Linked DNA regions of Homo sapiens: all the other regions are linked to region 1. The links are contacts of gene promoters, found by promoter capture Hi-C in blood cells and fetal thymus (Javierre and others, 2016). All regions are on one chromosome and are shown on one strand. The core of a region is centred on a gene start or on the middle of the fragment in contact, and the rest is flanking DNA. Distances in the headings are between cores, read along the strand shown.

Region 1 (3,400 bases), core at 339-2,838:
AGCATCACCTTAGTTTATGGGCATTTCTCCCTAGCAGGAGAGCTCTGCCAAAAGCCCGAGAGCGGCACCCCACAAAAACCCCGCGCCCCTGCTGCCTGCCCAACTCTCGCCCCACGGCGCAACCTCCCGGCCCGGCACCTTCCGTCCCGGGGTAAGACTCCTCGTTTTCCCGGAGCGGAACCCAGCCAGCCGGTTTCGGAAGTTTCCCACCTCCCCACTACAACTCCCTTCCGGGAGCCCCCACGCGGACCTCGCTTAAGGCGAGAAAGCCTAGAGGTCTCCCCTAAATCTGCACTCACACCGGGGCCGGCCCCCTCTTCCCTCCCCCTCCTTTCTCCTCCCTTCCAGCTCCAGTCCCCGCGCCTCCGGAGTCTCCAGCGCCAGAGGTTCTCTCGCCCAAGAGGAAACTTCTTTCTGGGCTAAATTCAGGTCCGAGCAGGAAAGGCTTTCCCTTCCCCGCAGGCATCAGAGGCGCGCTCACCCCCTATCCCCCAAAAGACCTAATTTCCCCCTCTCCCCACGATCACCCTCTCTGAGACTGCCTCAGATTACTAGTGCTACTCGACTTTTCAGGTCAAAAGGTCCAGCCGTCTCTGAAGCCACCACGGGGGCACTCTGGATTTTTCCCGAGACCCTACCAGTCCCGCGTGGCTTGGAAAAGACAAGTAAACAAAACACGGACCCGGCAACTCTGGGGTGTGTGTGTGTGTGTGTGTGTGTGTGTGTGTGCGTACGCGCGCGCGCGCAGGAGACAGAGCATCGCCCAAGAGTTAGGGCAACAGCTGCTAGAGCACATCTGGAAGAGGGGGAGGGGGTTCCACGCAGAGGGGACAAGAAGCCCCCAGTGGCTTCAGGGCCGAGGGCTGGGCTAGCCTGTAGTTCGTTACCTGTCCTATGTTGATGAATCCGTACTTGCTGGCGATACGGTTGGCCTCCGGGAAGCCCCCGGCGATTTTGACTGCCCAGTGGTTGGTGTAGACGCGCGTCCGACACACGGGGAGCAGGCAGCCCCCGAGCAGCGCCAGCACGCACAGCAGGTCCAAACGTCCCGGGCAGCAGCAGCGGCTCCCCCAGCCCATGGTCCCGGCGCCTCGCTGCTCCCTCGCTCGCTGGCTGGTTCCGCGCACTAAGGGCGCGCACAACTAACTTCTCCGGCCTGCGCCGCCCGGCGAGCAGCCCCGGGCCGCCGCAGCTCGCAGCCCCGGGCGATCGGCAGGAGGCGGCTAGCCCCGGCAGGGAGCAGAGCAGCGAGCCTTACGCCGGCTCCTAGACCATCCCTGGGGCTGCCGGGACCTGTGCTCCCAGCTCTCCGGCCCGTGGGGCGCTCGGCGATGCTCCCCGGCTCGGACGCAGGAGGAGGCTGAGTGGGGCGGGCGTCCTCCGCAGTTGGGTTTCGCCCGGCTTGGCTCCCGGACTCTCCGACTCGGTCTCGCTCCTCCCGGGGCCCCCGAGCGCGGCGGAGATGACCAGCGGGAGCGGTACAGGCAGCGACCGGGCGCCCCCTCTGCTGGCCCGGGCTCCAAACGCTCGCTTGCTCGCTCCCAGCGCTCCCTCCGGCTCCGAGCAGCGCGCGAGGATTCTGAGTGGCAATGGCAGCAGCTCCTGCTCTGCATAAATGACTTCCCCCGCCCCCCTTAACACCCCTCCTTTCCCACATCGCCCTCCTCCTCTCCCTCCTCCGCCCTCTTGAAAGCGGCCGCAGCCAGGCGCTGACGAGGTCCTAGCGCCTCCGGGTTCGCCCAGCTGTAACCTCCAGGGTTCCGGGCAGTAAAGGCAAGTCTTTCCAAAGGACTGAGAAGAGCGCTCCGAGATCGTGGTTTTACTCCCTTCTCTTCCCTCCCTGCTGGATTTGTATGAATTTACCGCCACTTCCCGAAAGACTAAAGAAATTTACACGCCGGTGCGAATTAACCGCCCTGAAGATTCATTCATCCTCGTTCTAAACGTCCTTAAATAACTAGGCATTTAAGGAGGTCACTTACGTGTCAATTGCCGAACAAATAACTCGAGATTTTCACTTCGTTAATTCTTCATGCTTTTCAGCAGCTGTTTATTTTACACTTTCTGCTCCCGGGAGAAGCTACCACACAGGACAGTAAGTCGCATCGACTCCTAGAATTGGCTCGAAAGCCAAGTCTGTTGCCTGCTCACTTTCGAAATCTGCGATACTAGGCAACGCCACGGGAGAGTACAATTCCGGCCTTGGAAGTGAGGAAAGATGTTTCTATGAATATTTGGTGTGCTAGTGGATGGACATGTTGGGCCAAGGAAATAACTCCATTCATTTGTTGGATTGCGTCTGACGAGGGCTTCTTTTTCTCCACCAAGGGAAAAGTTTCCCAACTTTTCCAAGCACAGTCCTGTAACAGTGAAAGACTTTAATATGAAAAAGACCACAGAGGAAGTTCAGATGAGATATGTGGCGGCGTCACCTTCATTACTCTATCATGCACTGTGACTGCAGCAGGCAGGAGGGAGCTCAAATTAACCCTCTTCTCGCTTCTCCTTTACAACCTCCCTGCCTTCCTGGAGCGGGGGTGGGGCACAGGGTGATTTACTGTGACAAGAAAAATTATCCCGTATGAAATAATTCAACTGACTTTAAAAGTATTCACTATATCCCTAACTGTCCTCCTTTCTCTCCTCCTACCATGCCCTATTTCTTTCTTCCTGTTAATTTAAATGTGTTTGAGATTAATTAACTCATCCCACCTATAGCTTTTGGTACTGATTTTTTAAAATCTGAAAGATACCTGCAGACTTAAAATTCCACTAGTACCTTTGAGCATAGCATTTGACATTTTACATATTGTATAAGGTATGCTATATTATTTAATCTTGAAAACAAACCCACAAAATAACATCATCCCCACATTATAGCTGAAGAAATAGAAGATCAGAAGAACTAAAACATGTGCAGAAGTGTATGTATTTTATTCGTTTATTTATTTGACTGATTCAACACATCTGTTTTGAGCACCTAGCATGTGCAATGAATTGTGCTGTACACTGGAGAAAGGGGAAGGGGGAGGCACAAAAAATTAGTGGAATTCAGAATCTCTGAATACTGTAGAGTAAATGTGGTTTATTATTGAAGGTATGTATGTATGTATGTATGTATGTATGTATGTATGTATGTATGTATGTATTTTTGAGACAGAGTCTCGCTCTGTCGCCCAGGCTGGAGTGCAGTGGTGTGATCTTGGCTCACTGCAGCCTTCGCCTCCCGGATTCAAGCGATTCTCCTGCCTCAGCCTCCCCGAGTAGCTGGGATTACAGGCTGGCTAATTTTTGTATTTTTAGTAGAGACAGGGTTGGCTGGTCTCGAACTCCTGATCTCAAATGCTCTGCCTGCCTTGGCCTCGCAAAGTGCTGGGATTACAGGCATGATCCACCATGC
Region 2 (3,400 bases), core at 359-2,858, 420 kb before region 1:
TTTCTTCCTTGTTTTAATGTGTTGTCAATTCCTGGAACACTCAAAGAATCCAAGAGAGAGTTGAAAAAGGTAATGATTAAATAAATAAGGCAATAATAATGACAACCAGTTCAATCCTACCACTGAGGAAGCAATGACTGACTCTGGTAAGCAAATCTCTTTCACCTTTGCTTTATTGTAACACTTGGCTGAGTTTGCTGGGGTGGAGCTCGGTTGATAGGGGAGGAGGACTGGGAGTTTCCAAACCTGACTTCTCACCTGGGTTCTCTTACTCTGACCCTTTGCTACCCTTTCTCCACTCTCTGCTTGACAAAATCCTTCAAGAGCTAGGGACCATCAAGCCTTTTCTCAAATACCCAGCTGGGGATGAAGCTGGAAAACATTATGCTAAGTCAAAAAGTCTGTCAGAAAAAAACATGTTTTGTCTTTTTTGTTTTATGTGTTTTGTTTTTGTTTTCAGAGACAGGGTCTTGCTATGTTGCTCAGGCTGACCTTGAACTCCTGGGCTCAAGCAATTCTCCAGCCTTGGGCTCCTGATAGCTGGGACTAGAGGTGTGCACCATGGCCACCATGCTTGGCTCAAAGACCACATTTTATATAATCCCATTTATAGGAAATGTCCAAGAATAGCAAATCTACAGGGATAGAAAGTAGATTAGTGGTTGCTTAGGGCTGGGGGAAATGGAAAAAGTAGGAATAACAGCTAAAAGGGTATAGGGTTTCTTTCTAGGTTGATGACAATGTTCTGAAATTGATTGTGGTAATGGTTGCATAACTCTGTGAATATACTAAAAACCGTGAATTATACACTTTTAGGGGTGATTTGTATGGTATGTGAATTATATCTCAATAAAGTTGTGATTTAAAAAATACTCAATTGTACAAGAAGGCAGCACTGAGTGATAGTTAAGCACATGGACTTCAATGCCAGAGAGGTTTGGGTTCAAATTCTGGCCACACCATGTATTTGATGTGTAAAATTGAGCCTGCTATTCTTTTCCTCATTGGTCAAATGAGGGAAAATAATAGTAAGTGGATAAGAGAATTCTTGTGAGGATTAATGGGATCATACATTTACAGCCCTTAGCACAATACCTGGACGTTGCAAGCATTCAAAAAATAGTGATTTAAAATGTTTTCTTTTCTCTTGGAATCTCTTAGCCCTTTGTATATTAAGGCCCTGAGAAGTATGACATTGACTGATGTAAACCTCCCTTAGTGGATTGTAAGCATTTTTGCAGACTTGGACTTCCTGGAGTTGGTCTTAACTTAGCTTTCCATATCAGTGTCAATATCAACATCAATATCAATATCAATATCAATTGTTGGTAGAAGAATAGACTCCACTGAGCTACGCATATACAATACAATATATTGATATTGCATCAGTATCAATTTTTACCCCTAGTTGGTGCTAAATCTGTGTTGTTGAGCTGAATATGCTTGGCTTTCTACACTAGATTGGATGCTTTTTGAGGGTAAATACCTTATATTTATACTCTATATTTATACTCATAACTTATATTTATACTCTATAGAGTCTATCTCAGTAATGAAAACAAATAGGTCACTAGGAAATAGGTGCCAGTTTTGCTTTTTTGCTTTTTTTTTTTTTTGAGATGGAGTTTCGCTCTTGTTGCCCAGGCTGGAATATAACGGTGTGATCTTAGCTCACCACAACCTCCACCTCCCGAGTTCAAACGAGTCTCCTGCTTCAGCCTCCCGAGTAGCTGGGATTACAGGCATATGACACCATGCCTGGCTAATTTTGTATTTTTAGTAGAGATGGGGTTTCTCCATGTTGGTCAGGCTGGTTTTGAACTCCTGACCTCAGGTGATCCTCCCGGTTGGCCTCCCAAAATGCTGTGATTACAGGCGTGAGCCACCACGCCCAGCCAGGAAATAGGCGTTGTTGTATCAAATTCTTTTAATAAGAGGGCAAATGAAAATTCTAACTCCTTAAAGTAGACACTGTCAGTTACTTCCGCACATTTATTTCCTGCCTCCCTCTCTCCATTCTTCCTGGCTGTCAGAGTCCTGAGTTGCTTGGATGTTCAGGCGTGAATCTTGTTCAGCCTAAACCACTCCTATATTTCCATTCTTTTTGCCAGGGATTGATTTAGGGAGGTATCAGTGATGCATTCTTGCGACTGAGATTAGAATAAAAATCTGAGGAAATTTTCTTTTCTTCAAGAAAAGGATAAACAAGGGGAAACATCCCCTTTCCTGGCCCTGGTAGTGGCTGCATGGGGTGACCGTGTCTGGAGCTGAGACACGTAATGTGGGCTCAGCAGCGGTGCCAGTCAGAGAGGATGAGCTAAGGAAGGTACAAGAGCGAAACAGAAAAACCAGACTTTGTGATGACCTTGTTGGCCGCTGAAGTGACCAATACTGGACTTGCAGCATTTTTGTTCTGTGAGATAATAAACCCTGTTATGTCTCAGTCATTTTACTTGGCATTTCTGTTGCTTATTGCTGAAAGTTTCTTGCTGTACTCTTGCATTTGCTATTCCTCACTTTCTTCCTAGGTAAATTCTGGAGGTGGGACTATTGGTAGGAAGAGTAAAGCAACTACAAACCAGGGGACCAAGGAAACCAGGAGGAATCAATAAATAACTAACCAGGTGTTATTTATTATCTATAATTCATGCCTCACCTATTTAAACCTTTAGAAGAGGTGCACATCACAGCCTTACTTTTGTAATGGAGGAAAAAAAACATGACATCAGTTGATCATTAATATAAGGTGGGAAAATAATTTTTTTTTTTTTTTTAAAGACAGGGTCCTGCTTTGTCATCCAGGCTGGAGTACAGTGGTGCAATCACAGCTCACTGCAATCTCCTGGGCTCAAGGAATCCTCCCACCTTAGCCTCCCAAGTAGCTGGGACTACAGCACCCACTGGCTAATTTTTAAATATTTTGTAGACGGAGTCTTGCTATGTTGCCTAGGCTGGTCTCAAATTCCTAGCGATCCTTCTGCCTTAGCCTCCCGAAGTGCTGGGATTACAGGTGTGAGCCACCACGCCCAGCCCCTGAACATATTTTTCATAAAAGTAAAAATATATACATAAAATAGTCACAGAGGAGAAGTGGGCATCTGGCCTCATGTAAGTTTTGGCTGCTGTGGCGCACACCCATGTCAGTCAACAGAGGACATTTATGTGGGTGCTCGTAGAGCAGAGAAGAGTTTTTTGGTGAATAAGAAAGAATTGCTCCCAAAGTACCAGAGGAGAGTGATTACAAGCAGGAAGTAAAATTAAAAAGGAAACTTACTCCGGGCACTTGGAGTAGCACCTGCCTTCATGGAGGAAGAGAGGGTGGCCCGGCTGCATCTGGCATTTTTTGCAAAGATCGGCTCCAGAGCAGATGGCACAGGCCTCCGTACAGTTCTCGCAGCTC
Region 3 (3,400 bases), core at 518-3,017, 400 kb before region 1:
TATTTTTAGTAGAGATGGGGTTTCACCATGTTGGCCAGGCCACTGTGTCCAGCCTTTGCATTTGTTTTCAAAGAAACCAAGATGGCTTTAGCTTATGTCAACCAAGAAATGTGTTTTAATAAATCCAGGTCGGGCGAGGTGGCTCATGCTTGTAATCCCAGCACTTTGGGAGGCTGAGGTGGGTGGATCACCTGAGGTCAGGTGTTCGAGGCCAGCCTGGCCAACAGAGGTTGCAGTGAGCTGAGATTGCGCCACTGCACTCCAACCTGGGTGACAAGAGTGAGACTCCATCTAAAAAAATCCAACACTTTACCTAAGTCCTTTTTCAACTGGGAATTTACATTGGCCATTAGAGGGTTAAGAGCATCGAATACAGAATCCTTGAGGCCTTGAAAAATTACAAATAAAATAAATCTCTGTGTAGAGAAACACTGAAGATCATTGTGGGCTGTCCTTCTCATTCTTTCTCCCCCAAACACTCAAGTGCATTGGGCTATTATCCTCTTCAGCTGGAAGAGTCACACTGTATTTCTTTCCTAACTATCCATTTCCATCAGTCAGTGAGTTGACCAAAGCCTAAGGCAAGGGATCTTGTTAGATTCTTACAGTGCATGGGGATATATAAGATGGATTAAGTCTCAAGACAAGGGTCAGAGCTCTCAATATGCCAGGTGACTTCAATGCCAAAACATTCATCTTCAGGTCCCCACTCTCTATCTCCATCCAATTCAGCCTTGTTTCCATCAGCTTGGAGATATTTGAGATTAATTAGTGGAACAGGAACCATGCTTCAGTAATAAAAGCAGAAGGAGGTGGTTTGGCTAATGTTTATTTCTAAACCAAATTAAAATTTCTCCTTGGGCCAGAGGTGCCCACACGCACAGACTCTGAAACCAATCACATGTGCGCTCCTGTGGCCCCGACTGTGTGGAGCTCCAGTGCCTGGTTCTTAGCTTGGATGGTGCCATTTTCTAACTTACCTAAGAGAAAGAAGCCCTCTTCACACCAGTAACACCCATTCTGGTCACAGCTGCCACAGTTACTATCACACGCCTTGCATTCCACTTCCTCACTGTAGGTCTTCTCAGGACAGGTTTTATAACAATGGTGATCAAACCTAGAGGAAGAAGACATCATTTCTTTCATGACTTATGTTGATGTATTTCTCTTCACCATAATTTAATCTCCTTATGTATGTCTATGCAGAGTTTTTTGTTTCGTTTTGTTTTGTTTTGTTTGAGATGGAGTTTTGCTCTTGTCGCCCAGGCTGGAGTGCAGTGGTCGATCTCGGCTCACTGCAACTTCTGTCTCCCGGGCTCAAGTGATTCTCTTGCCTCAGCCTCCCGAGTAGCTGGGATTACAGGTGCACACCACCATGCCTGGCTAATTTTTGTATTTTTTTCCAGAGAGGGGGTTTTGCCATGTTGCCCAGGCTGGTCTCAAACTCCTGGCCTCAGGGGATCTGCCCACCTCTGCCTCCCAAAGTGTTGGAATTACAGGCATGAGCCACCACGCCCAGCCTGTGCAGCATTTTCAACAGGAGTGGATAATTGAATTTCAGGCTTGGTCTGTTATGCACCCCTCAACCCAAGTCACTAACCACCTCCTTCTGGACCTCCAAGGACTCTTTATCAGGGCAGCTGGGAGAAGGCTGGGGAGAAAGAAGGGGTACTGATACTTATTTATAGAGTACTGATTATGTGTCAAGTATTAGCTCATCTAAATCTCCACAAATCTCGTATGGTAGATATCATGTATCTTTAATTTCTAGATAAGGGAACTGGAGCTCAGGGTTAAGTGCTCAAAAATCACAGAGCTAGCTAACGGTGGGACTGGGATTTTAACCAAAGTCTGTGTGAAAAGGTTGCTTGTGTGATTTATCACATAGCAACTGGCACTGAGGCCTGAAATAGCTTGGTGTCGAGTCCAGGCAGCTTACTAAAATGTCTGTAACCAGATTATTAACAATAGTAGCGAAGTAGCTTAGCTTTTATTTATAAATATTTTTATGTACGTTATCTGTTATTCTCATTCTACAGTAAAATGTTGTAATTCAGACTCCACTGAATTGCAGGCTTACCTGAAGGAGGAGTGGAGTGAAATTGACCCCTGCCTTTGATGAATTTCAGAGCATCAGCATGATATCAGGGGAAACCTTTGCATATCTTCCTTAACAACTGTTTTTTTTTTTTTTTTTGAGACTAAATCTCCCTGTCACTGAGGCTGGAGTGCAATGGCATGATCTTGGCTCACTGCCACCTCCACCTCCTGGGTTCAAGTGATTCTCTTGCCTCAGCTTCCTGAGTAGCTGGAACTACAGATGCATGCCACCACACTCGGCTAATTTTTGTATTTTTAGTAGAGACGGGGTTTCCCCAGGTTGGCTAGGCTGGTCCCAAACTCCTGACCTCAGGTGATCCACCCACCTTGGCCTCCCAAAGTGTTGGGATTACAGGCGTGAGCCAACACGCCCAGCAACAATGTCTATTGTAAGGCATTTCACTCGCTGTATTCAAAGTTGCTGAATGTTTTCAAAGATTATATATGTTTGTTTCTTGAAATAAATATCTCATGTTGTACCCTTAGTGATATTGGAGCATGTTCTTCCAGGGTATTTGTTTTTCAGAGGGTTTTATGAAACATGCTCATTAGCGAGTAGTGGAGAGCTGAAGAGGCGGCCAGGTTTGGCTCCAACGTTTAACAGAGGATGTTTGACAAAGTTTAACAGAGCCTGGCCAACATGGCGAAACCCTGTCTCTGCTAAAAATACAAAAACTAGCTGGGCGTGGTGGTGTGCACCTATAATCCCAGCTACTAGGGAGGCTGAGGCACAAGAATCACTTGAACTTGGGAGGCAGAGGTTGCAGTGAGCTGACATCGTGCCACTGCACTCCAGCCTGGGCCACAGAGTGAGACTGTCTTAAAAACAAACAAACAAAAAAAACCCAAAAAAACAAAGTGGGTCAGGAGTGCAGTGATGTGAGACATAGTCAATGTAGAGAATGGCAGGCTATTCTGGAAAAGTTAGATTAAAACCGTAAGGCTAAGAACTGATAAGGTTAACTGATCATTTTTAGTATGTTTCAGCTTGTTGGGCTTCCCTTTCTCTCCCATCCTCCACACTCCTTTTACTTTTTCTTACCTATTACCACATTTCAAGTGTATTTGTTTTTGGACAGGTGGGTCGCCTTCTCTTGTCACCACATTGCTTTGTCCAATTCTATGGATGGAGGGAAAAGGCAATGTGACAAGAGGAGGTGACCCGCCAAAGGCCAAATGTCGCAAATGTAGACCTGTCAGTAGCTGTGGTGCAACTGGAGTAAAACCTTGCCCCTCTCTGAGCTTCAGTTTTCTCTTCAGGAGATTAACATCCTCCTGTGTCTCTGACAATCTCAATAAA
Region 4 (3,400 bases), core at 283-2,782, 380 kb before region 1:
CAGATGCTCCAGAAATATGCATTGGGTGAAGAAAACACATAAGTAAGTACGTAAATTCAGATAAAGGGTTAGAGAGTGATGAGACTGGGGTGGAGAGGAGAGGCCCTAATTTAGATGGGCTAGTGAGGCCGTGTCTTGCAAGAATTGACATCTGAGTAGAGATTCGAATGATAACAAAGAGCTAGCATGGGAGGTTCTGAGGGCAGGTGTTCCAGACAGAGGCCAGGGAAAGCTTGTCCCCTTCAAGGAACATCAAGAAGGCCAGTGGGGCTGGAAGAGATGGAGAGAAAGGGAGAGAGTCAGGAGGTGATGCCAGGGTCATAGGCAGGACAAGATCATATAGGATCTTATAGGCCAGGATAGGAGGTTTACATTCTAATCGAAGAGTAATGGGAGGGCATGAGAAGCTTCAGTAAAAATGACCTATGTGATCTGATTTATTTAAAATGATGACTGTGTCTACTGTGTGGTAATGGCTTATTTAACTGCAGAAACAGATACATCTATTAAATCTTGCTCAACTAGATTCTATGTAACACACTCAAGAAACTTTTATTTTATTTTATTTTTTTATTTATTTATATATTTTTAGGAATATCCTAGAGGAGAAATGATTAGGGATAAACTAAGACTGTGGGTGCAGTAACAGCAAAACTCAGATTTGAGAGAAAGTAAAGAAATAAAATTGAGAATATTAAATGATAAGATGTGTGGGGTGAGGGAATGGGATTACTCCGCGGCCTTGTCCAAGCACCTGGATGGATGGGAGAAGAGGAGCACCCAGCAGTGAAGTCGACTTAGAAGTAATAAACACTTAATTGATCCCACACTACAGTCCATCCACTGCTTTGGATACTGTAACGAGTATAGATGAGAAAGGCAGTCCCTACCTCAAGGAATTTGCAAATTGGCGAAGGGACAGTAATTAACAAAGCTAATTAGAGAGAAATCACAGTGTGGCGAATGATAGAATGGAGAAACCTCTAATGTAGTGTACCACAGAAATATTTTTTCAGGCTGAAAGAAGCCAAGTTATGATTCTCTCTCTTCTGTCTTCCCACATAATTAGTATTTCATCAGCCAGGCACAGTGGCTAATGCCTGGAATCCCAACATTTTGGGAGGCCGAGGCAGGTGGATCACTTGAGATCAGGAGTTTGAGGCCAGCCTGGCCAACATGGTGAAACCCTGTCTCTACTAAAAATACAAAAATTAGCCAGGTGTGGTGGTGCATGCCTGTAATCCTAGCTACTTAGGAGGCTGAGGCAGGAGAATCACTTGAATCCGAGAGGCGGAGGTTGCAGTAAGCCAAGATCATGCCACTGGACTCCAGCCTGGGTGACAGAAAGAGACTGCATCTGAAAAACAAACAAACAAAAAACCCCCAAAAAACCAAAGAAGCAAACAAACAAAAAATAGCTTTTTTAAAATCTTGCTTAATGGGCAAATTCAGAGCATTCTTATTATAGTTAGGGTTGTCAGATAAAATGCAGGGCTGGGATAGGAACACATGGATTGCAGTCTTAGTGAAGGATGGATGAAAAATAAACTTTTCAGGAGGAAGAGACAGGAAAAAATTATCTTGGTCTCATCCTTAGCATTGAGTAGTGCTATTTGACCATCCAAACCTCATGTTAAAATTTTATCTCCTCCCATTCAAATAGGTATAAAAACAATATTTTTAAAAAAAGGATAAATTTTTTTTTTATCTCCAATGTTAGAGGCAGGACCTAATGAGAGGTGTTTGGGTCATATGGGTGGATCCTTCATGCATGGGGTGGTGCTGTCCTCTTGGGAATGAGTGAGTTCTTGCTTTACTAATTCCCGTGAGAGTTCCTATGAGGGCTGCTTGTTCAAAAGAGCCTGGTGCCTCCCCTCCCCTTGCTTTCTCCCCCTTCCACCATGAGTGGAAGCAGCCTGGAGCCCTCGCTAGAAGCAGATGCTGGAGCCATGCTCTTGTACAGCCTGCAGAAGCATGAGCCAGATAAACCTCTATTCTTTCTACATTTCCTGGCCTCAGGTATTCTTTTATAGCAATACAAATGGACTAAGACAGGTAGATACAATAAAATAAAACAACAAAAAAACCCCTTTGAGAATGTGTAACCCTAAGCTAGATATCACATAGGTTTATAGTCATAATTCATGTTACTTGTGTGTTCTAGAACATCTCAAAAGGAAAATTCAGTTTCAAGTAGTTCCAGGTAAGTAATGCCTTAAGACCATTGACAGAAGGAAATGCAAATCTTCTCTTAAAAAATATAATCTTAACCCAGGCCTTAAAGTATTTTCATGGGTAAATTTTCAAGGAAAATGGTCACAGTTTAAAAACATAGACCACATAAGGAAATCAGTCACCATGAGAGAAAGTCAGCAGAAATAACACCAGAATCAAACCCACAGAGACTACAGATCTTGAAAGTAGCTGGTACAAAATATAAAATAACAAATATTTAAAATTTTTAAAGAAATAAAAAGAACATCTTAAAATATAAAATAACCGTGTGGTTTGTAAAACAACTACATATAACTTCTATAAGTGATAGACATAAAAATTAGAATCTAAAGCTCAGTGGATAGATTAAACAGTAGATTAGGCATAGCAGAAAAAGAATTAGGTAAACTCAAAGATAGATATAAAGAAAAGATAGAAGCTTCAACCCATAGAGGCAATAAAAGCTAAAAAACAGGAAAGGGTGGTTAAGAAACGTGGAGGTTAAAATGAGAAGGGCTAAAAAATGTCAAAGTTCCGAAGAGATAACTGAGAGAATGGGAAAGGTACAATATTTGATAACAATAAAATCCTTGAAAATGTTCCAGAATTGTTGGAAAAAAAAAAACAAAACCCACCAATCTGGCTGGGCACAGTGGCTCATGCTGGCAATCACAGCACTTTGCGAGTCCAAAGCAAGAGGCTTGCTTGAGCCTGGGAGTTTGAGACCAGCCTAGGCAATATAGCAAGACCCTGTCTCTACAAAAAAAAAAAGAAAAAAAAAATTAAAAATTAGCTATGTATGATAGCATGCACCTGTAATCCCAGCTACTTGGGGGACTGAGGCAAGAGGATCTCTAGAGCCCAGGAGTTTCAGGCTATAGTGAGCTATGATCGCACCACTGCACTCCAGCCTGGGTGACAGAGATATACTGTCTGTAATGATAATAATAATATCAATAAATCCCCATGATTAATTTCAAGAAGCAGTACAAATATATATATATATATATATGTATATATATATTACTATTTTGTTAATCTATAAGAAGACTCATCACAGTGAAATTACAGAATAACCAAGAAAGCAAACAGCTGTTAGCCCAGGGAGAGTGATAAAGAGACATAGTATGTAAGAAGAAACACCTTGAGAAGGGGCAATGAAATTTGGTGGATGAAAGAAGGAGGC
Region 5 (3,400 bases), core at 661-3,160, 360 kb before region 1:
CCTGTTGACTTTTGGAAAGCAGGAATTTCAGGCTCTAGAGGTGCAGAGGCAATTTACTGACACTCATCGTTGGCCCAACTCTCAGTTGGAGACCAGCCTGTTGAGCAGCTGGGTATCAACATGCAGATGCTCCTGTCTTATCCACACACAGCATCTCTCTATTCTGGTGTCTGCTCTGTGACTTAAATCAATTTTTTTTTTCTCCTCAACCAGTGGAGCTTGAAGCTCTTCCTACCATCTATGAAATAGCAGTTTGGTTGTGGCATAGGGAGATGGAGAGTTGGGGGGTGAGATGAGGACAGATAATAACAGGCACAGAAGTCACAGATAGTTACTGAGTGCCTCCCTGTTGACAGGCACTGTGCTAAGTGCTGTGACACAGTGGTGCATGTCAGACATGTGGCTTCAGATACACCAACAGGCTTCTCAGAAAAAGGGTGAACGTAGAGAGAAAGCAAATTAAATTCTGTTTTGATATTCACAATAGAGCCTCTTGGTTCCTCTCTCTTGAAGAACTCAAGATATGAGCACCTTTCTAGTTTTCATCATAATCTCTAGGGACCTATTAGGAGGTACAAGGAAGGCAATTTATGTGATGCTTTCCTTTATAAAACAGGATAGAATTAAGAAACAAAAAATGTAAAGGGCTTGCCCAAGATTTTCACTGTGTTAAGGGAAGGATGGAAATGAATAGAGACTAAGATTTCTGACTCAATTTTCCACACTCCTGCAAAACTAAATGAGACCTAACCATCTGAAGTTCTAGTCACTACTGCCAGACTCATTTTTATTTTTCTTTAAGCGTGATGAACAGGCACGAGCTGGGGTCTTGATTGACTAAGGGTTTCAGAAAAATCGAAGATATTTCACTAAAAGGAAGTAATTTGGCAATGATTTTCCAGGTTATTATTCCTAATCATGCAGAATCATTCTCACTGGTTTCCAGATTCATCTGTAAAGGTGAATCCATCCCTCCAGCTCAACTGCCCTTGGACGTTTAATGTCACAGACCCCACATTGCTTTCGAGACTGGCAGACGGTCTTCTGAACCCTCCACCCTGTGTGTCCGGCTCGACCACACTCCGCTTTTGTTTAACGAGGTTTGTTTTGGAAGTACTTGGCTCAGTTCTCTCTGCAAGCTTACGTGATCCAGACAGACTTGGCTCACAGCTCGACTTAGCAGGTCAGTTACACAACAAGTAGGAGGAACTTCGATTATACCCGGCTCCGGGGGAAATAGCGTAATAGCATGAAGAGCCAAGATGATGAGCTAATTGCTCTAGAATTGAACTTAAGATACCTCGCCACTATGTTCTTCTCCCCCATAACTCTAAGAATGTGAGCTTGAATGTTGGAGAAGGAGCAAAGGAAATGTCAGGAGACACAACTAAGGAACAGAGAATGTAATCAAGAATGAAACAAATGCAGCAGACCAACCTTTGCACAACTTTCATTTATGTTCTTTAGGAAAATAGTGTATGAGTGCAGTCTACTTTGGAAAAAGAGCAACTATTTGGTTGGTCTGTGGGTTTGGAGCCAGACAGTCCTAAGTCTGAATTTGGCTCTAACACTTGCTAGCTGTGTAACTTTAGGCAAATGACATAAGCTCCCTGGGCATTGGTTTTTTCATCTATAAAATGAGGATAAGGAATTTTTTTCTTCTTTTTGAGACAGGATCTTGCTCCATTGCCCACGCTGGAGTGCCATGGTGCCATCATAGTTCACTGCAGCCTCAGCCTCCCGGGATCAACCAATCCTCCTGCCTCAGCCTTCTAAGTAGCTGGGACTATGGGTGCGTGTAACCGCACCAGGCTAACTTAAAAAAAAAATTTATTTGTAGAAATGGGGCCTTGATGTGTTGGCCAGGCTGGTTTTGAACTCCTGACTTCAAGTGATTCCCCTCACCTGCCACCTTAACTGCCCAAAGTGCTAGGATTACAGGTGTAAGCCACTGAGCCTAGCCTATCATAAGGATTTTGAGCAGAGAGAATTACATTGAAGATTAGAGGTCATGTTTGTAAAATGTCCACCTAGCTGAACAATACATTCTAATATAATGTATCTGCCTCTGTTTCAGCTTCCATTCTCAACACAGTATCTTAAACAGATGTTGAAGTTATCTGTTTCTATATCTATCTTAATCAGTGGCTTTCAACTCTGGTTGCACATTAGAATTAGTCAGGGAGTTTTTTAAAATTATTTTTTTTATTTTTTTGAGAGAGAGTCTTATTCTGTTGCCCAGGCTGGAGTGCAGTGGCATGATCACAGCTCACTGAAACCTCAATTTCCCGGGCTCAGGCAATCATCCCACCTCAGCCTCCCTAGTAGCTGGGACTACAGGTCTGTACCACCACACTCAATTAATTTTTGTATTTTTAGTAGAGATGGGGTTTCACCATGTTGCCCAGGCTGATCTCAAACTCCTGGCCTCAAGTGATCCACCCACCTCAGTCTCCCAAGGTGTTGGGATTACAGGCATGAGCCACCATGCCTGGCCAGGGCGTTTTAAAAAAATACTGATGCCCACACCTCACTCCAGACTAATTAAATTAGAAACATTGGGAGTAGGTATCAGCACCTGCATTTTACAGCTCCGCAGGATCCTAATATGTACCCAGAGCTGAGAACTTCTGGCCTATCGCATTTGCATGTGAGCAGCTTAGGAGCAAAGAACAAGCTTTATTCATCTTTATATCCCCATGTCTAGCCTGATGTAGATGCTCAGGAAATATTTCTTGAATCTAACTCAAAAACTGAGAGATGCTGTTCAGATTCCCAAGACGTGTCTTATATGGGCGAATACATTTTTTAGGCAGCAAACAAAGGCAAGAGACAGCAGCACTTGCTATTGTCACAGTAGGCATTTGAAAAATGACACTAAAGAAGGGTCAAGTTCCTTTTAGCTGACAGCCTACCTATTGACTATAAGGCATTGACCACTGGTCCTCTTCTTGACTCATCAGTTGCCAGAGATAAAAGAAGTGAGATAACAGAATACTTGGGGAAATTTCATCTTTTTTTTTTTTTTAAATAGTGACTTCTTCAAAAGAGTTGCTTTGAGAGAAGAAAAAAGTTAGACATTTCCAAGGTAAGACAATGGACAAGTTCAGAGGAGCAGAAGAGAAATAATTTATTGAAGCATATCGGGCACACATCTGGGACTATTTCATGTACAAACACACAATGTGAAAGCTCAGAATATGCCAGCAACAGTCCCATGACCCATAGTCATTCCCCTGTGAGACTGTCACCATTACACACAATCATTATTTTCTCTCTTTTCTGCAGGCACATGGTAAGATTGCACCTCCCCACTCTCTGATCCCAGGCGTAATCATGTAACTTGCTTTAGCCAAAAATACGTAAGCAGGAGGTACAAGTGCCACATCCTGGAGAAACC
Region 6 (3,400 bases), core at 636-3,135, 280 kb before region 1:
ACAGAACTCTATTCTAAAGAAATAATGAAGATATAGACAAAGATTGATAAATAATGATGTTTATCCAAACCGTGTTTAAAATAGTGTAAAATTCTGTAAGCGAACAATATGTCCCAGATTACAGATTAACTATATTATGGTACAATCGCAATATGGACTATTAGCTTTGCAGATAACACATATGGATATTTGAATATATGAGTGCACTGATATACACACACAAATATTTAAGGGGAAGAAAATATGTCAGAATATGGGTAGTAGATTGTTCTGTTCTATTCTATTCTGTTCTGTTCTATTCTATTCTATTCTATTCGATTCGATTCGATTCGATTCCATTCCATTCCATTCCATTCCATTCCATTCCATTTCATTCCATTCCATTTCATTCCATTCCATTCCATTCTGTTCTCCCATGTGGTGGGATGATGCATGAGCTGCCTCTTTTTAGCCTGTGTCCCACTGGAAGCCAGCTCACCTGCATAATCCTCTGTGCCATAGTCGTCTGTGGGGTCTTCAACTCGGCTATAGCGGAACCGTTCCACTTTCGGAAATTCATTGGTTGGTGAATATGGCTGCACGGAGGTGCCGTAGAGGACCAAAGACCATTCTTTCAATTTACCTTGAGAAATAATAATGAAATCACAGCATGACCAAATTTTCCCTCTTTAGCTCTGTAACATCTTTAAGTCCTTCTCACTCAAGAAAAAGCAACAGAACTGTGGGAGGCAGATGGATATCAATCACTACATCAAACGCAGAGCTAGAAATGCGTATTTCTCGTCATCTGCAGAATTATTTAATAATTCACATACCACATATTGACTGAGCATGTACTACCAGAGAGGCCTTGATTTAATCAGCATTTATAGGAAGACTGAGAAACAAACACACTTCAGATTGCTGGATCAAGGGCTGAATTTCAAATTAGAAATATTTAAGAGAATCCCAGGACTTAATAGAAGGCTTTGTTTTTCTAGGTATAAAAAGTCTTATATGGCCCGGTGCGGTGGCTCATGCCTGTAATCCCAGCACCTTGGGAGGCTGAGACTGGTGGATCACGAGGTCAGGAGATTGAGACCACCCTGGCTAACACGGTGAAACTCCGTCTCTACTAAAAATACAAAAAAAAAATTAGCTGGGCGCAGTGGCACGTGCCTGTAGTCCCAGCTACTTGGGGGGCTGAGGCAGAAGAATCCCTTGAACCTGGGAGGCGGAGGTTGCAGAGAGCGGAGATCACGCCACTGCACTCCAGCCTGGGCAACAGGGCAACACTCCATCTCAAAAAAAAAAAAAAATTTTTTTTTGGCATTATCTGACTTGTTAATAAGTAGACAGAACAACTCTTTGTTCTCCCTAATTCCTGGTATCGGTCATTCAATATTAAGAAAACATCACTAATTATACTGTCCTATAGACCTGTGCTGTCCAATGTGATAGCCATTAAACATTTGATTATTTAAACTTAAATGAACTAAAATTAACAAAAATTTTGAGATTCAGCTTCTCCATCACACTAACCATATTTCCAGTGCTCAAGAGCCATATGTGGCTAGTGGCCATCCTACTGGACAGCATTTCCATCATTGCAGAATGTTCTATGGGTCTATGTGCAAAACAGCATTTTCTTTCTTTTTTTTTGATTTCGTTCTGTCACCCAGGCTGGAGTGCAATGGCATGATCTAGGCTCACTGCAACCCCTGACTCCCTGGTTCAAGCAATTCTCCTGCCTTATCCTCCCAAGTAGCTGGGATTACAGGTGGCCCCCACCACACTCAGCTAATTTTTGTATTTTTTAGTAGAGACAGGGTTTCACCATGTTGGTCAGGCTGGTCTTGAACTCCTGACCTCAGGTGATCCACCCGCCTTAGCCTCCCTAAGTGCTGGGATTACAGACGTGAGCCACCACACTTGGCCCAAAACAGCATTTTCTGGGCAGGAACGCCTTGAGACCTGAGGCAAGTGTTTCACCTTCTATGAGTCTGGATCACTTACAAGGAACATTTTGCTTTAGTTTAGTTCTTATTTGTTAACTTATTTCTTAGCTTCACAAAATTGTGTTCAATGCAAAAAGTAAAAAAAAAAAAAAAAAAAAAAAAAAAAAAAAAAAAGGAAACGTGCCTCCATTTCATTAAAGTTAGTAAAACTGATCTCAAAAGGAATCAACCGTAAGCAGAAGTGATTAAGACAAAACCATTACAAACATAGGCATATGCTGGTAGGAAGGTAGAATGCCCCTCAGAACCCCTCTCACCTTGGCTGAATGCATAGAATCCAGACAAGGTCAGGGGCTAGCTCAGAAAGTGACGGATTTCAGCTTGTCAGCTTCCTTCATCTATGAGCACCTACCATCACCAACAAATCGATGTTTGATGTTTTTAAGTGCTTTCTATATGCTAAGCACCAGTCTAAGTGATTTGTAAGTTTTATTTCATTCACTGTTCAAAACAACTCTAAGGTGGGTACTAACAGTCCCAATATATAGAGGAGGAAACAGAGCTACAGAGGTTGGTAACTTCCTCAAAGGCAATAAGAGGACAGATTGGTATTAAAACATACTCCAATTCCAAATCCTGTGTTTTTAAACCATATACAAAATTATCTCCTATTCATTTCTAGGAGTTTAGGAGCCTGACATTTAAAAATGAACACATTCTGTGATGCATGCATTTTTTTCTGACTTTTACATTGGACCAGTACAATCGGTTTATGTATGGTTTGCCCTCTGCCAGCTTTTCTTTGGACTCATTTGTTAATGACCAGGCTTTTCACAATCAGGGTATTATTCAGGCCCAGAATTCTAAGTAACACGCATTAGGGAGTGATAAGAAGTGAATGACTGCTGGAAATTGATGACCTATCTGATTGCCTTTAGGTAGCAGTGCAAAAGAGAACGCATTTTCCTTATGGCATCTCTCAAGTGTACAAATGAAGCATATAATACAAGGACACTATAGGTCATCCTAATCATTAGTCACCTTAAAATTTAGTTCATTTTATTTAAGATCATTTTGGATGCAAAAGTTTACCCTCTAAGTGCTTTGAAGAGTGCTGTCTCAAAATTGATTATTTCCCTTTGTGCCATTTCTGAAGGACATCATAAGCCCACTAGGGATATCCTTCCTGTGTAATTCATCTCTTTATATTTCACTTATTATGTAATTTTATTTCCTTAGAACCTCTACTATGATTCACTTCAAATAACTGCCATATTTGGGCCATCATTTTTTTTTCTCCTCTACCCCTTTTTCTGTTTGCTAAATTTTATAGATGATTTTGCAATTAATATTGAAACCTGTTATTATGAAATAGCTGTGTAAATACAGAAGGAGAAAAATCCATCTTCCTTGCTAACACATAAATGCAATCTGCGTATATAGGTTCAATGTGCCAAAAATCA
Region 7 (3,400 bases), core at 542-3,041, 290 kb after region 1:
GGCTTCAGAGCCTTCATCAGATTCCCAAAGGGACCTGTGATCCAGAAAGGGTGGGGAAAACACTCACCATGCTGGCTCCTCCACAAAGACACAACCCGTTTCCAACTGCAAAGCATGGGGATAGGCAGGTGAGAAAGAAATCTTTTCTATCAGTGAAGTTAGAAAGTACAAGTTGAGGAGTGTTGTTCATTACATTTCACCATGTACAAAAGCAAATGTACTATTTTCAAGAAGGTTGTAGAGCTGTTTTCTTACTAAATCACACTCTGTCTCTCAGTAAATTTTTCTGAACTTAAGCAAAGCCCTGGCAATAATATTTTGTAATCCAGAAGAAAATCCAAAATATATTCACACACTAGATCTCATATCATTGGTTTTAAGGATATGATTGCTGAAGGATTCAATCTCTCATCGCAGAGACGTAAAGGAAAATTAAATGATTCATGGAATTCTCTCCAGGGACACATGTTTCAAATATTTCTCAGTAATATTTCACTTCAGGTAAGTAACTTACATTCTTTACACCTCAGCTTTCTTATCTATGAAATAAAAAGTTTGGATCAGAAGAGTGCTTTTCAAAATACGGCTATGAAACTCTCTGAGCAGAATCATCAAAAATTTCTATTTTAATTGCAAATTTTCCAGATGAACCTCAAAAACATCATACTAAGGGAGAAAAGTTAAACACAAAAGGCTGTATGTATACTGCAAGATTACATTTATATGAAATTCCCCAAACAGCAAAATTACGGGGCTGGAAATCAAACAGGTGATTGCCTGGGGGTTATAAGCGGGGGAGGGAAAGGAGATGGATTGTAAAGGGGCATGAAAAGCTTTGTAGGGTGATGCAACTGTTTCATATCTTGATTGTGATGGAGATTTCATGGCTGCATACAATTATCAAAATTTGCAAAGCTGTACACCTCAAGGGAGTGAATTTTGCTGTATTTAAGTTATAAGGCAGCCAAAACTTGGCAAATTCCTGGGCCTTATCAGAATCTGAATTTTTAACAAGCTCCCTCAATGGATGTTTTATTCACTAAAATTTGGGAATTACTGAATTTAATAATGTATTCATCTCTTACAAATTTAGAATTCCATAAAACTCCACATTGGGTGACAGTGGCAGTGTTACTTGATGTCAAAGATAGATGACAAAGGATATTTTTAGCTGTTATGCAGACTATGAAATATATGGAAAACTAAGAACTCTAGAAGTTAAAAAAAATTCTTTTTAAGGTTGGGGAACTTCTATCAACGGAACAGATTTAGAAGAAGATTAGGAAGAAGGACTTAGCGTGGGGGATAGGAGAACTTCTGGGGCTGGTTGTGTTACCTAGTCCATGCCTGGACAGAGTTCCTTTGCCTCTGGCTACATGTACTCATTCTTGAAATTCAGAAGAATGCAGGTTTGGAGAGCAAGATGAGCCAAAAACAGTTAATAGTATTTTTTTTTTCTTTCTGTCCCTACAAGCATCATTCTCATTCCTGTTAGTCTGAGTTTTTTTTTATTTTTCTTTTATTTATTTATTTATTTTGAGACAGTGTCTTGCTCTGTCACCCAGGCTGGAGTGCAGTGGTGCTGTCTCAGCTCACTGCAACCTTCACCTTCTGGGTTCAAGTGATTCTCCTGCCTCAGCCTCCTGAGTAGCTGGATTACGTGTGTGCACCACCACGGCCTGGCTAATTTTTGTATTTTTAGTTGAGAAAGGGTTTCACCATATTAGCCAGGCTGGTCTGGAACTCCCAACCTCAGATGATCTGCCTGCCTCAGCCTTCCAAAGTGCTGGGATTACAGGCATGAGCCATTACGCCCGGCCTGTCTGGGTTTTAAATAATTTTAGTAAGCTAATGAATCCTTTTCCAAATCTCTCAGGCCTATCATATTGTTAGAGATATAAAACACAATGGGCTGTCCGAAGTTCCCTGGAACACTGCTAATTATCCTCAGAAGAGCTGAGCACAGCAAGGTCTGGAATTCTAGCTCTTCTGCCATGCATGTGGATTATGACATCATCCAAGTTAATTGATTGCATTCCTATCTACCTTTCCGTTTGGGACCATGTATTATTCAGAATATTTTTTTGTTGTTGATACAAAACAAGAAGTGCTCATCCTTTGGAGCAGTGCCTTGGTGTCTGAGATCACGTTATTGATGGTTAAGTGCTGTCAGTTACTGGGGAGGGACAAGGATCTGCCAGTGGTTGCCTGGAAATGGCCTTAAAGTGGGCAGAGGAGGGTATGAGAAGATCCAAAAACCAAAGAGGATTTCAACACTTGGAGCATAACAAACGAACGATTCTTCAACAAACAAACGCTATAGATAGAGTCATGCAGTAAACTCCTAAAGGGGAAGCAATAAGCTAAGAATGACCAGGCTCAAATATAGAAACATAACCCAGGCCACTTTGGCTAGCCAAGGAAAAATGCTTCATAGATTCACTCTCTCCCGCCTTCTTTTGCTGCCTAACTGCTTGTTTTTATCCTTCCTTCCCCATTCCTCTCTCCCTGCCTTCTCCCCTTTCTTCCTTGATTCGTCATTTAAACGAATGTCTTCTGAAAACAGGTCCAAAATGGGACTGGAGAAATGCAATGAATATGAAAGTCACAGTTCCTATGGAAAAGCTCATAAGCTGGCGGGAGAGCCCAATAGATGAACAATGACAATTAAACATAAAAAGTGCTTTAGTGAAACCAAGTGCCACAGGAGCCCGAGGAGCAAGCACCTAGCTCTTCCTAGGGAAGCTTTCTTACCTTATACCAGTGGTTCTCATAGAATAGAGATTTGTGCCTCCCAGTGGACATTTGGCAATATCTCAAGACATGCATGAAACAAGGACAAGAGAGCAGACATAGAAAGAAAGAAACTTCAGATGGTGATGTAGCTCTAATACTTGTAGAAGGAGAGAGAGAAGGAAGAAGGCTGAGCCCCAGACTGCAATGCTGCCCTGTAAAAGTCTTGGTCAGCCTGAAGAGGAATCCTTGAGTAGGGATTGTCCACTATAGGAGTCATATGTTGGGCAAGAACTGCCTGTCCCTAGGATCCCAGCATGCTCAGTCACTGGCTGAGAGCTTCTGGGAAAGACAACAGTCTTGGCATGAATGCATGGTGGATACGGAGATGTGGCCGCAGAAGCTGTCAGCTGACAATGCTCCTCTCAGCAGGGTCTTTCTAGATGGGAGATTGCTTGGTGCACCCCCATGACCACCACAAATAGACTGTGTGTTGCTAAGCAAGAATTGTTAAAGGACTCCGTCTTTACTCCAAAAAGCTAGGCTGTACTTCTCCCCTGATGAAGGAGGTTGTGTAACACCTGCAAATCTTCCAAAAGCCTTTTTGTTGATAGAGCTACTGCTCTGATGTTTTGTTATTTGTCTATACAATAATGGAAGAAAGACC

Evidence for each region. Contacts are between HindIII fragments. The CHiCAGO score rates a contact against its expected background, and 5 or more counts as called.
Region 2: a fragment that was not itself captured here is called in contact with the fragment with the promoter of PCSK5 in region 1 in 2 of 17 cell types (M0 macrophages and M1 macrophages); the score reaches 5.1 in M0 macrophages.
Region 3: a fragment that was not itself captured here is called in contact with the fragment with the promoter of PCSK5 in region 1 in 5 of 17 cell types (M1 macrophages, naive CD4 T cells, M0 macrophages and 2 more); the score reaches 7.5 in M1 macrophages.
Region 4: a fragment that was not itself captured here is called in contact with the fragment with the promoter of PCSK5 in region 1 in 2 of 17 cell types (naive CD4 T cells and M1 macrophages); the score reaches 6.9 in naive CD4 T cells.
Region 5: a fragment that was not itself captured here is called in contact with the fragment with the promoter of PCSK5 in region 1 in 2 of 17 cell types (M1 macrophages and M0 macrophages); the score reaches 5.7 in M1 macrophages.
Region 6: a fragment that was not itself captured here is called in contact with the fragment with the promoter of PCSK5 in region 1 in 2 of 17 cell types (non-activated CD4 T cells and total CD4 T cells); the score reaches 5.2 in non-activated CD4 T cells.
Region 7: a fragment that was not itself captured here is called in contact with the fragment with the promoter of PCSK5 in region 1 in 1 of 17 cell types (M2 macrophages); the score reaches 5.5 in M2 macrophages.

What each region holds. Positions count from the first base shown.
Region 1 is chr9:75,888,861-75,892,260 of GRCh38, reverse strand. It overlaps PCSK5 (proprotein convertase subtilisin/kexin type 5), which reads right to left and starts at 1,588. Exons shown (of 38, transcript NM_001372043.1): 1 at 888-1,588. The coding sequence starts at 1,079. The HindIII fragment of the contact is 12,342 bases long and covers 1-3,400 here.
Region 2 is chr9:76,310,726-76,314,125 of GRCh38, reverse strand. It overlaps PCSK5 (proprotein convertase subtilisin/kexin type 5), which reads right to left. Exons shown (of 38, transcript NM_001372043.1): 30 at 3,275-3,400. Among named protein-coding and RNA genes, the nearest start is that of RFK, 82 kb to the left of the region's middle. The HindIII fragment of the contact is 3,878 bases long and covers 1-3,400 here.
Region 3 is chr9:76,292,992-76,296,391 of GRCh38, reverse strand. PCSK5 (proprotein convertase subtilisin/kexin type 5) reads right to left here. Exons shown (of 38, transcript NM_001372043.1): 26 at 981-1,117. Among named protein-coding and RNA genes, the nearest start is that of RFK, 100 kb to the left of the region's middle. The HindIII fragment of the contact is 5,529 bases long and covers 1-3,400 here.
Region 4 is chr9:76,273,403-76,276,802 of GRCh38, reverse strand. The region is part of intron 24 of PCSK5 (proprotein convertase subtilisin/kexin type 5); the gene reads right to left. Among named protein-coding and RNA genes, the nearest start is that of RFK, 120 kb to the left of the region's middle. The HindIII fragment of the contact is 2,246 bases long and covers 410-2,655 here.
Region 5 is chr9:76,254,102-76,257,501 of GRCh38, reverse strand. All of the region lies in intron 24 of PCSK5 (proprotein convertase subtilisin/kexin type 5), which reads right to left. Among named protein-coding and RNA genes, the nearest start is that of RFK, 140 kb to the left of the region's middle. The HindIII fragment of the contact is 1,538 bases long and covers 1,142-2,679 here.
Region 6 is chr9:76,172,208-76,175,607 of GRCh38, reverse strand. PCSK5 (proprotein convertase subtilisin/kexin type 5) reads right to left here. Exons shown (of 38, transcript NM_001372043.1): 14 at 479-622. Among named protein-coding and RNA genes, the nearest start is that of RFK, 220 kb to the left of the region's middle. The HindIII fragment of the contact is 6,514 bases long and covers 1-3,400 here.
Region 7 is chr9:75,600,875-75,604,274 of GRCh38, reverse strand. No RefSeq gene overlaps it. Among named protein-coding and RNA genes, the nearest start is that of PCSK5, 290 kb to the left of the region's middle. The HindIII fragment of the contact is 1,912 bases long and covers 836-2,747 here.